2 separate regions of the Homo sapiens genome follow, and region 2 is linked to region 1. Evidence: promoter capture Hi-C in human tissues and cell types (Jung and others, 2019). All regions are on one chromosome and are shown on one strand. The core of a region is centred on a gene start or on the middle of the fragment in contact, and the rest is flanking DNA. Distances in the headings are between cores, read along the strand shown. Region 1 holds the start of SIK1 (salt inducible kinase 1). Region 2 overlaps LINC03039 (long intergenic non-protein coding RNA 3039).

The links. Contacts are between HindIII fragments. The study calls those that stand out against the background at their distance.
Region 2: a contact is called between a fragment that was not itself captured here and the fragment with the promoter of SIK1 in region 1, in 3 of the 25 tissues and cell types used here (bladder, dorsolateral prefrontal cortex and spleen).

Annotation. Positions count from the first base shown.
Region 1 is chr21:43,425,881-43,431,966 of GRCh38, forward strand. SIK1 (salt inducible kinase 1) reads right to left here and starts at 1,251. Exons shown (of 14, transcript NM_173354.5): 1 at 1,130-1,251; 2 at 143-312. The coding sequence starts at 298. LOC124905029 (a long non-coding RNA gene) reads left to right here and starts at 3,704. Exons shown (of 3, transcript XR_007067891.1): 1 at 3,704-6,086. RefSeq lists a silencer at 4,849-5,143. The HindIII fragment of the contact is 13,239 bases long and covers 1-6,086 here.
Region 2 is chr21:43,385,462-43,391,547 of GRCh38, forward strand. LINC03039 (long intergenic non-protein coding RNA 3039) reads right to left here. Exons shown (of 3, transcript NR_176219.1): 2 at 5,384-6,086; 3 at 3,138-5,129. Among named protein-coding and RNA genes, the nearest start is that of LINC03039, 11 kb to the right of the region's middle. RefSeq lists an enhancer at 81-659 and a silencer at 5,674-5,874. The HindIII fragment of the contact is 6,673 bases long and covers 445-6,086 here.

The sequences.
Region 1 (6,086 bases), core at 1-2,500:
GAACTAAAAACGGTTACTATTTACCCACCACGACAATCAAGCCTGGAGCAGTGAATCTGCATGGGGTCCACCCGCCAAAGGTCGGGTCGCCCCGGGTCCAGTGGGGAGGCCCCGCCGGCTGGGTCCCACCGCCCCCACGCACCTGCGTTTTGGTGACTCGATGCCGCGCCAGCTTCACCACCGCGAAGTTGCCTTTGCCCAGGGTCCGCTCGATGTCGTAAAAACCCACCCGGAGGGGCTTCTGCTGGCCCTGACCCTGGCCCGCGGGGTCCGCGCTGAACTCCGACATGATAACCATGGCTCCGCGCGCACCTGCGGGGCCGCACAGAGCTCAGAGCCCACCAGCGCCCCCGCCGCCCGCGGTCGGCTCCATCCGTGCCCGCGGAGCCCCCAGTCCCCACGGGACGCAGGGACCTGCTCCCACGCCTGTCGCCCCCACTCTATCCACGGGCCCCTCCAGCCCCGTGGGAGGTGTGGACCCGCCCCCGCCGCCCGCTCCACCCGGACCCCCGACCCTCTTGAGCCCCGCGGGGCGCACGGACCCGCTCTCATAGAGGCCCCTGCCGCCCGAGTCCGGTTCCGTCCCGATCCCGGGACCCCCTGAGCCGGGATTCCACACTCGCCTCCCGCCGCCCGCTGTCGGTTCCGTCCCCACCCTCGACCCCTTTAGCACCTCTGGGCGCGGACCCGCTCCCACACCTGGCCCTGCCACCCGAGGTCGGCTCGATCCGGATCCCAGGACCGTCCCCTGCCCCGCTCCCACACCCTGCCCCCGCCGCCCGCGATCCGTCCGGTCCCCACCCCCGACATCCCAGGCACCTCGGGGATCGCGGACCCGCCCCCCACACCCGGTATCTCCGCCCGCGGTCGGCTCCAACCTGACCCCCGGCTCCCCAGCCCCTGAGCCCCGCGGACTCACTCCTACCCCGGCCCCCCAACAAAGGGGAGCCCGAGGGCGGCCAGGCCGCCAACCCCGCCCGCGAACCCCGCGCGCGCAAGGCCAGGGACCCTGCGCGGTGGCTGCAACCCCGAGCCCCGGCCCGGCGCCCGCGCGGAGCCCCCACGGCGGCCACCTCCGCCCGCCCGGAGCCCGCCGCTGCCGCCGCTGCCGCCGCTGCCGCCGCCTCACCTCCGCCGCCACCGGAGCGCCCAGGCCAGGAAGCCGCCCGCTCGGCCGCTGGCGCTGCTCGGGTGCCTACTGCTCCGGCTGCCGCCGCCGCTGCTGCTGCCTCCGGGGCCGCGCCGCATGTCAGCCCGGAGCCGCCGCGCTCCGCCGCACGCGGCGCCCGGCCCCGCCCCGGCCCGCCCCGGCCCGCCCCCCGTAGTCCCCGCCCCCTGCCCCGCCCCCGCCGCCCGGGCGGGGGCCGCCCATTGACGTCGCTTTGACGCCAGAGCGACGCGCGGCCGAGCGCCGGGCGGAGGGAGAGCGGGAGATCGGGCGGTTGCCAAGAGACTGGCGGCTCTGACGCGCGCGGGATGAGGCCGTTGCCCTGGCGACCGCGGGCCGGTGACGTCAGGGGCGCCCGCCGCCCGAGGCCCGCCCGCCTGCGCTCCGCCGGGCGCCCCCTCCCGGGCGCTGGGGGCACTGCGGGCGGCCCCACCGCCGAGGGCGCGCCCGCCCCTCCACGCTCGGGCACTCGGGCCGGGTCCCGCGGGCGCCTTGTGCTCGCTCCCTCCAGGAGGGGACGGCTCTCGGGCAGGGGTCGCCGGCCCCTCCACGCGGCCTGCGTTCGTCCAGACTCAGAGCCTCGGGACGTGCGGGGGCCCGGGGGCCTCGCGGGCTCGCGCGTGGGGCTGGCGGCGCGGATGCCCTGGGGCGCTGCAGACCCCGAGAGGCCGCTTGCCCGCGGGGACGTCAGCCGCTTTTGCTGTTAAAATCTGAAATGTTCAGCAAGTTAGAAACTTGAAACCTAAGGAAGCGTGACCGGCCGCTCTGGAAGCCCCCGCCGCGCGGCCGGTCCCGGCCCCGGCCCTCAGCGGCGCTGGCGTCTGCGCGTCCCGGGGCTGCCCCCGCAGCATGTGGGGCTGGGACCCTCTTCCCGCGCGGGCCCCGGGCGGACGCTGCGGGCGGTGACGGAGCCAGGCCGGCCGCCTGGGTAGGGGACGGGGGCGCGGGACCACTTGCTTGCCCGTGGCCGATGCCTCATCCGAACGGAAAACGTTTTCTTCAGGGGAGACAGAGGCTGTGGGCGAAGGTATTTTTTAAGCCTGAGGACCCATTTGGGAGTTAGATTCTGGATCGAGCCTAGGGTCAGTTTTCCTTGTGTTAAATAACACTACTTCACAGAAGGGGGAACGAGAATTCAGGGGAGTTGGCACAAAACTTGGAACCCTTCTCGGGAGGCTTTCCTGCCTGGACGGACGCCTGGGAGGAGGGCCCGGAGAAACGAGGATGAGCTTCTCCTCATTCGCCCGAGGGTCTGACCACAGATTTCCCAATCGCCACACACACACACACACACACACACACACACACACACACACGGGTTGTTTGGGAGTCAGTTGGTTTTCAAAGGCTTTCAAGGAAATGAAGAGTCCCAAAGTTTTCCTTAATCGTTCAGAGTGTTTTTCTTTGTCCCAGGTTTATATACCAAGAATACGGGGGAATATTTTTAGTTCCTTTCAGCTGAACAGTGTACAACTGCCTTTTTTCCTTTTGGAGGTCCCAACACCCTGTTAATCCGCTCCTAGGAGAACTAAACAAAAACAAGGCTGGACGTCGTGTCTCCCGCCTGTAATCCCAGTGCTTTGGGAGGCTGAGGCAGGAGGATCAGTTGAGCTCAGGAGTTTGAGACCGGCTTGGTTAACATAGCAAGACCTCACCTCTATAAAATACTTTTAAAATAGCCAGGTGTGGTGGCACACGCCTGTGGGGCCGGCTACTTGGGAGCCTGAGGTGGGAGGATGGCGTGAGCCTGGGAGGTTGAGGCTGCAGTGAGCTGTCATTGCACCACTGCACTCCAGCCTGAGCAAGAGAACAAGGCCCTGTCTCAAAAAAGAACAAAGATAAAAGGCGGGGTGGGGGAGAAACCAGGCCCCTGATCACACTCACCATTCAGTCCCTCAGCCTGTGACTTGAAATACTGCCCCCCGCATCCAGGAAGCAGGCTTCCCCACCCCTCCCACCCTAGCCAGAGTCTTCCAAAAGGTCTTAGGTATTTGCAAACACCTGGCTGGCTGTTTGGAAACATTGCATCAGCACCAAATAAAAACTGCAGCCAAAACTGCCTCCGCAGAACAGGTCCCCAAACTCAGGTGCACTTGACCTTTCACCCTGACCCAGCCCTGAGCTTCCAAAACCCAGAACAGCCCTGTGCCAACCATGGCCATCCTGTTTTCCCTTCCCTGGGCCCGTGGGCAAGGAGCTCGCTCTGCAGAGAAAGGCAGGAAGCACAGAGGAAAAGGCCAAGCTTGGAACGGCTGTCCCGTCTCCCCACTGGGGGAACCCCTGGCACCCTCATAACTAAGTCTGTGCTTCAACCTGGTCTCTGTTACCCAATGTCTTTTGTTGTTGTTTGTGTCCTTGACCCCCCGAGGCTGTATTTCCTCTCAGAAGCTTTGATTTCTTTTCTGTTTTCTGGTCTTCCGTGCCTTTAACACGAGGAAAAATAAAACACATGGTGTGAGTGTAAGGATGGTACAAGCAAATGATTGGAGAAGCTCCTCACTGAACATAATGGAAGGAATGCTCCCAAAGTCTGCAGGAACGGTACTTTATTATTATGGTTTGCATATTATTACAGATTTGTGGAAAACGGCAAGTCAGTTTTCCTTTCCACATGGACTTTCTTCAGCTTGTCTTATGATTGCCGTGTTTCTGGAGTTCATCTTGTTTTTTAGGCCTTAAGACTGGAAACCCCAACAGGAAATGGGTCCATTTATTATTCATAGTTGTAACGCTGGCCACTGGCATGTCACAAAACTCTCAAAATCAATTGATAAACACAGAGAATGGAGCGTGGGGCAGCATTTTTGCAAAGGGATGGGTGCCCAGCTGGCCCCAGTGCCGCCCTCTGTGAGGAAGGAATCTCCCAGTGCAGCCAGGAGTCAGACGAGTTCCTCTTCCCGACCCTACCCTCCCATCTTCGACGCCTAAGGCCCTTCCCTGTCTTCCTGGCTTTGCTTCAGGTGGTTTTGTACTTTTTAAATTTTGTTTTGGTTTGTTTAGGCTTCAGCCTAGCGGCTTTAGGTGCCAGAAAATCAGATTAACCACTGCAGCGGCATCCTTCTCAGGGACCCGGGGGCCACGTTGGTCATTTTGCCCCATTGTATCTGGAGAGCTTGACAGACAGACATGTGTGCACTAGGTCAGGAAGCCACGGCCCTGGCCTGGGAAGAGGGCAGGTAGGAGAAAAGCCCCCAGCCCCCTCCACCCTCAGGGAATGGCCCAGTTGTCCACAGGTTAAGTCAAGAATCCCCCGCGAACAGGTCAAACCAGAGACTGCCCAGTCCCAGCGTCCGCCCCCAGGGCATTGCTTCCTTCACCTCCTACACTTGGCTCCCTGTGGTTCCGTGGCTGCCACAGTTGTGTGGATCCTACCGGGCCCAGGGCCCCTCCCCATCTCAGACAGCACCCACTTTCAGGCTAGGCCTTCCACGGGCTGCTTAAATGGACCACGAAGGCCGGCAAAGCAGCAGAAACGTGCCTGTTCACGGGCCAGTCGGCCCTCCCCGCTCCAGCCCTCTAGGGTTTCTGGTTCCGGTTTCTGTCGCTGCCGTTAGTGAGGAATTATTCATGTGGCCAATGCGTTTTCTTGACATTTAAGCAGGGCTGTGGCCGATATCAAGGCTGAGGACCCAAGAGGCCTTTGGGTGTCTGTGTCCCTGAGCCATATGCTGAGGTCGGACGGCGGGGGAGGGGGGTGCAGGAAGGGGCCAGCCCCAGCGAGAGTCAGCCAGGCCCCAAACAGAGCCAGGGGTTCCCCCGGGGGGGAGTGCTCACTTAGGAAGAGCACCATGGACAGCCTGGCAGGAGGTCACCCTGTGCTGAGCAGGCAGCGCTGGAGTAAACCACCTGCCTCTCTGTAGGAAGAAGGAAACCGCATCCGCAAACGGAGCAAAGGTCCCCAGAGGCAGAGCAGAAGCCTCTGGGATGCTGCAGCTTTGTGCAGACACTGGGGACCAGGACTGGAGCAGGTGCTGGCCGTGCTCTTTATCCTGGGCACTCTGCCAGGGCCACACGGAGCGTGGCTCCCGGGAGATGGAGACGTCTGAGTGTCAGCTCAGGTCTCGGTGTTTCCAGGTGACATGCTGGCTGCTAGTGTAGAGCATGGTAAACCATCTTTTTTTTTTTTGGTTACTATTTACTTATGCAAAATAATGTGAGTTTCTGCCATTTGCAACAAGTGTGCCAGCTGCAATGAGTCAGCGGGTGGACACAGGTGAGCATGGCCAGACTGTGCCAGAACATGGTGACAGACAGACATGCTTCGAAGTTCACTGTGGGAAGGGACAGGTCCCCAGAGAGAGGTGAGACGGTGCAACGCGAGGGTGAGTTCGGAGTCATCCTCCAGATGTCCACAAAGGCTCGAGAGGCCCTGCTGTGTGTCAGGCACTGCGTGAAGGTTGTGGGCACAGTAGGAGGGACACAAGACACCTTCTCTCGAGGACCGTTGGTTCCAGTTGCGGAGACAGTAACAGCATAAGATGATGAGTAAGAAAAGAATGCTGGCAGGAAAGTGGCCATGGAGGGAACTGCTTCCGGGCCTCTCCGTGGGATTTGCCAGGCGTGGACTGAGCGAGGACCTTCCCTGAGAACACCAACTGCTCCAGGAGAGAGAAGAGGTGGAGCCCCGGCGGGGGGCATGGGGCAGGAGGCAGCCACCCACACCTTCCCTCTCTGAATGCTGAGCAGAGGCTCTCAGCAGAGGGGAAGAAGAGCAGAGGCCACGATTGGGAAGACAGACCCAGTGGGGGTCCTTGGCGCCGTCCACATCCATCTGCAACCTGCTGCCCAGCGCCTGCCTGCCCGGGGTGTGCACAGAGCAGTGTGGTCTGTCCCGGCTTCACGGCCTGACACGGCCAGGCGAGGATGACAGGGAAAGGGAGGCAGGGACTTGGGGCTGTTGGAGCCAAGCTGAGGAGCA
Region 2 (6,086 bases), core at 2,531-5,030, 38 kb before region 1:
TGGTGTGTGTGCTGTGCGTCCCTGGTGTGTGTGCATCCCTTGTGTGTCTGTCCCTGGTGTGTGTCCCTGGTGTGTGTGGTGTGTGTCCCTGGTGTGTGTGTGGTGTGTGTGTCCCTGGTGTGTGTGTGTCCCTGGTGTGTGTGTTTGCGGGGGTCCCTGGTGTGTGTGGTGTGCGTCCCTGGAGTGTGTGTGGGTCCCTGGTGTGTGTGTGGGTCCCTGGTGTGTGTGGTATGCATCCCTGGTGTGTGTGTGGTGTGCATCCCCGGTGTGTGTGTGTGTGTCCCTGGTGTGTGCAGGGGTCCCTGGTGTGTGTGGTGTGCGTCCCTGGTGTGTGTGGGTGTCCCTGGTGTGTGTGGTGTGCGTCCGTGGTGTGTGTGGGTGTCCCTGGTGTGTGTGGTGTGCGTCCCTGGTGTGTGTGGTGTGTGTCCCTGGTGTGTGTGTGTCTGTCCCTGACGTGTGTGTGTATCTGTGCACACGGCTGCCCACCCACAGGCTGTCCTGGCCAGGTGCCTGGTTCTCCCAGGCCCTGCAGAACACTCTGTGCGGAGTGGGCCCAGGAGGTGGGATTCCTGCAGAGCCGGTCCCTCTGGCCCTCGGGGTCTGCGCATCTTGGACAGTGTCCTGTGGGCTGCTCTGAGCCCAGGCACTGCTTGCAGGGCAGATGGGACACCGGCTGGAGGATGCCCACAGCCCATGGGCTGGTTGCTGCTGTCTCCCGCCTGCCTGCCAGGGGCACAGCCGGGGGTTTAGGGTGCAGCCTCCGGCCCGCTGGCTCAAGTTTCCAGAAGAGTCTGCCACAGACAGATCTCATGTAGCAAAGGGCAGAGGCCAGAGGTGGACTCCACACGGGCCTGCAATGGGTGACTGTGGGCAAGTCACCAAACCACGCAGGGCCTCCTGGTCACCGACCAGTCACCACCCCTGTCCCAGGGTAGGTGATGAGACAAAGCCCTTCCCTTGGCCCTGGCAGAGAAGTGAGGAGCAGCCGCTCTGCCTTAGTTTATAAAATGGGAAGAACAAGTCCCTGAGGGTCAACGTTTGGGGGACCCTGCAGAGACTGGGCACAAAGTGTCCTGCACATCTAGGATCAGGCAGGTGATGCTCAGACAAGTTCCAAACACATGGGGAACCAAAATGTGGTTGCCCCAAAATGTGGTTTTGGGGACCCCAACACCTGGGGTGGGTGGGCACAGCGTGCTCCTGTGTTGCTGAGAGCCAGAGAGGAAGTCTCCAACCCCACAGGGCTTTCCTGATCCGGGCATCTCGGCCCGGGGCCTGGCTGCTGGGCGGGCCCCAGGAGTGCCCCCATGGAGGGCCTTCTGGGATGACATTGGCCTGTGGCCACTTCTGCAGCCCCAGCCCAGCCTTCAGGTCTCTCCTGCTTCAGAAGCCCTTGGCCATCCCCAGGCACCTCCCGGACATTGCCCAGAGCGGCGGCCCTAAGACGACAAGAGCTGTGATGCCCCGTTGGTGCCGCTAGGACTGCCCAGCCCTCCTGCTGCTCCGTGGACCTCCGGGGTCTGGGATGGGTGGGTGGGGCCCTTCCTGGTGACTGGCGTTTACTGGGCTTCTGTGGGGCCACCAAGCACCGACACAGGGTCAGAGTGAGGAGCGAAAGCCCTGACGCCTGCCCTCATGGGGAGTCGGTCTCCTCTGGACACGGCCTTGTTCCAGTGACCACAGAGGCTGGCGAGTGCCACGTGGTCCCCACTGCATCACACACCTCCCACGCCCTGCCCGGCGTCAGGGACAGGAGGCTCAGGGAAGCGAAGGACACTGCCCAGGGGCACGGGGCTGGCCAGGGCTCGCCCAGGCCTGCCTGCCCCAAAGCCCAGCTCCTCTCTCCACCCGGCTCCTAGCTTTGTCCCAAAAAGCCGGAAGGACCAGACACTTGGTTTGGGGCAAAACTTAAGTGGGAGGGTGCTAAAAAAAAATCAAGATCAATAACATTTTAGTGTAATACTTTTAAAAATTAAAATTAATGCACAATTCATGATGAACGAAATGTCAAACTTCTAAACAAGTCAAGGCCCGCCTCTGTGTGGCACAGCCCTGGGGGCGAGTGCTCAGCCCACCCCAAACCCCTGGGCCGGGCTCCAGGGAAATGCTGCCAGCTTCCCACTTCCAGCAGAGCCAGCCCCTCAGCTGTGAGACGGTTTCCACAGCGACCAGCCCAGGTAGCGGGGAGGCTCTCCAGTTCAGGGGATGCTAGGAGACACTGGGAAGGGGGATCCCTGCTGGGAAGAGCCAGGAAGGGGCTCCACAATTCCTCTGGAGGAAGCACGACCTCCAAGGATGAGGAGAGGAAATCCCTCCAGCCCAGGAATTTCCCAAGCCAGAGCTCTCTGCCTCATGAGAATGGAGCCACCGTCCCCAGCGCCAAGGGAGGCTGCTCCCTCCCTTCCTCCTTCCCTCCCTTCCTCCCTCCCTCCCTCCCTTCCTCCTCCCTGTCCTTGCCCCCCGGGAGCCTAAGAGCTCGCTACCTGGGGTGAATGCCCAGTAGACCGTGCAGTTCTGATTTTCTCACACACTGCACTTTTGGATGATTACTTATGGATGCTAGCCATTACGAAGGAAGCAAAAAGCCGTGTGCAGTGCAGGACTGAGTTTGCTTGATTAAAAGGCCTCGCCAGTTGCTGACGCCCTGGGGTTGCGTCTGAGGGGCGGTGAACGTGGCCTCCAGATTTCTCTTGCTGCGAGGCTTGGGCACATCCCGATGGCAGTTGGCTGTGGGGTGAACGGGGAGTGCCAGGCAGGAGGCAGGGGCCTGGCAGGAAATAGATGTTACATGCAAATTGAATCACTTAAGGAGCATTTAATAAAGGAATTACAAGAACAGGACAGACTTGGGAAACCAGGAGGGATGGGTGCTCAAGGGGCAGCCCGGGCAGGAGAACCGCGTCTTCCCAAGGCCTGGAGAGGGAGGGCAGGAGCCAGTGCCGACCCAAGCCTTGTAGCTGTCGGTAAGAAGGCCTGGACAGGAGCCGCTCCCCACCCCTGACACACACAAAGGACACAGTGAGTCCCAAGCCCTTGGAGGGCAGTGGAAACGCCCCCTTAACAGGCAACGTTCTTCCGAGAAACAGAACCAGGGGGATTTGTCCCGGCTTTCCTGACATGAAAAAAACAATAGGCGGTTCATATACACGTATATATATTTAGACAATAGGCGGTTTACATACACATATATATGTTTAGAGAACAGACGGTTTACATACACGGATATACGTTTAGACAACAGGCAGTTTACATACACGGATATATGTTTAGAGAACAGGCGGTTTACATACACGGATATACGTTTAGAGAACAGGCGGTTTACATACACGGATATACGTTTAGAGAACAGGCGGTTTACATACACGGATATACGTTTAGACAACAGGCGGTTTACATACACGGATATACGTTTAGAGAACAGGCGGTTTACATACACGGATATATGTTTAGACAACAACAGGCGGTTTACATACACGGATATATGTTTAGACAACAGGCGGTTTACATACACGGATATATGTTTAGACAACAGGCGGTTTACATACACGGATATATGTTTAGACAACAGGCGGTTTACATACACGGATATATGTTTAGACAACAGGCGGTTTACATACACGGATATATGTTTAGACAACAGGCGGTTTACATACACGGATATATGTTTAGACAACAGGCGGTTTACCTAGACGGATATATGTTTAGAGATTTATTTTAAGGCATTGGATCCCGCAATCATGGGGGTTCAAAACCTGCAGGGCAGGCGGCAGGCAGGAGACACGCAGTAGGGCACGTCACCGTCTTGAGGCAGGTGTTCTCAGTGAAACCTCGGTTTTCACTCTTAAGGGCTTCCTTTGAAGGGATGAGTCCCTCCCAGAAAAATCGAGGCTAATCTCCTTCAGATCATCTGATTGTGGATATTGAGCTCCTCTGCAGGACACCTTCCCAGCTACACCTGGGCTCATGTTTGAGCACTTAGGTACTGTGGCCTGGCCAGGATTACAGGTAATGCAAACCTCATCCTCCCCATTTTGCCTCTCCCATCCTGGGCTTCTCTGCCAGGGCTTCCTAAGGGCTGAGCCAGAGGCGGAGAGGGCCTTGGGGGCATGCAGAGAGCTCAGCAGAGCAAGAAGAGGTCAGCCAGGCTGGGGGTCCCGGCGACTCAGGCAGGAGCCTGACGTTTAATTCCAGGTCTGCAGGAAACCATCTTGAGCTCCAGGTGGGAGAGGGTTCCCTGTGATCAGATTCTGAGCCTCGGGCGGGAGAGCGTTCCCTGTGATCAGATTCTGAGCCCCAGGCGGGAAAGGGTTCCCTGTGATCAGATTCTGAGCCCCGGGCGGGAGAGGGTTCCCTGTGATCAGATTCCACAAAAGAAGAGCTTCTTCCTTCCCCTCCCATTCCCAGTCACCCATGAGACCCGTGGCTACCTGGTGGTGGCATGTGGGGCAAACGCCTGTGTTGACCACCTGGGAGGTTTGGTTTCCTCCACTAGAAAACTGGAGAGCTGAAAACATGTCCTTGTAGAACATGTGAAATGACCTCCTGGGGTGCCTGACGCTGCCCGTGCGGGCTCTGGCGATGCCTCAGTGGCTTCCTAAGACACCCTCCTTCACCCCGTACAGTCTCCGGTGCAGAGATGGACGAGCTGGGGGACTCAGGCAATTTCCCCCACAAAGTGTTGCAATGGATTGAGAACGCCTCCCGGAGTGTCTGAGGCCACCTGCATTTTCAGAAGAAAGTTCCACTTTCTTCAGAACAGATAACGTGGTGCTTTGACTGCCATTGTTATCTGCTGCACCGAGTCAGGAGAGGCTGGGCCGTGACGTGACGCAGTAACAAGCAAACCTCCAAAATCTCACAGCTTAATCGCGCTACAGCGTATTTCTCTCTAGGGCAAGCAGCACACGGATTGTCAGGGCCCTCCTCCAGGGTCACTGGGGGGCCGGGTTCCCCATCTCCTAGTGCCGCCCTCACAGACATGCCTCCAGGGTCCCACGGCAGAGAGGGGCCTGTGGAGGAGGCATGCAACCTCTGAGTGTGTTGGCAAGCCGACTCATGGTCCTTCTGCTCAGAGCCCATTGGCCATGGCTGGTCACATGGTCCCAACCTCACCTCGAGGGACGCTGGGCCTGAAGGAAAACACACAGAATATTTAGAGAATTCTCCTGCCCTTCCTCTATGGAAATGTGGGACAGCTGGGCATGTCTAAAATTAATTGGTTTTTAAGAATGTTCAGTAAGATCCCATCCTGGGAAGAAAACCCTATTTAAAAATATATCATATAGAATATATAAAACATATACACATACAGATATAGACTGTGTGTGTTTTCTATTTCCATGTAGCAAATTACCCCAAAACTGAGCAGTGTAAAACAACAAACCTTCATTATCTTACAGTTTCAGAGGCTCCAGGATTTGGAAGAAGCCCAGTGGGGTGGCTGTGGCTCAGGATCTGGCACGAGGTTGCCGCCAGGACGGCAACACCTGCACGTGCGACTGGGCTGGGGGATCCGTTTCCAAGGAAGCTTGCTCACATGGCTGCTGGGGAGAGGCCTCCAGTCCTCACAAGGCCATTGGTGGAGGCTGCAGCTCCTCACAGGCTATTGGCGGGAGGCCTCAGTCCCTGGCCTCATAGGCTTCTCCACAAGGCTGCTTGAGCATTCTCCTAACATGGCGACTGTCTTCCCCCAGAGTGACCCCAGGGAGAGCAAGGTGGGATCCACAAAGCCATTTGTGAACTAGGCTTGGACATCACTCACTGTCACACAGGCCAACTCTGATACAATGATACCAGGACGCTGTGATGGCCAATTTCATGTGTCACCTTGACTGGGAAGAGGTGGCGAGATATTTGGCCGCATGTTCTCTAGGGTATCTGTGAGCTGTCTCTGGGTGAGATCAGCATTTGAGTTGAAGGACTGAGGAAAGTCCATGGCTGTCCCCTGCGTGGGCGGGCATCCTCCAATCCCTTGAAGGCCTGAGCAGAACAAAAGGCTGAGGGAGGGAGAGCCCACTTTCTCTGCCTGAAGGTCTTCAAGCTGATGGGATCTTGTCCAGCCTTCAGATTTGAACTCGGCTGCATCA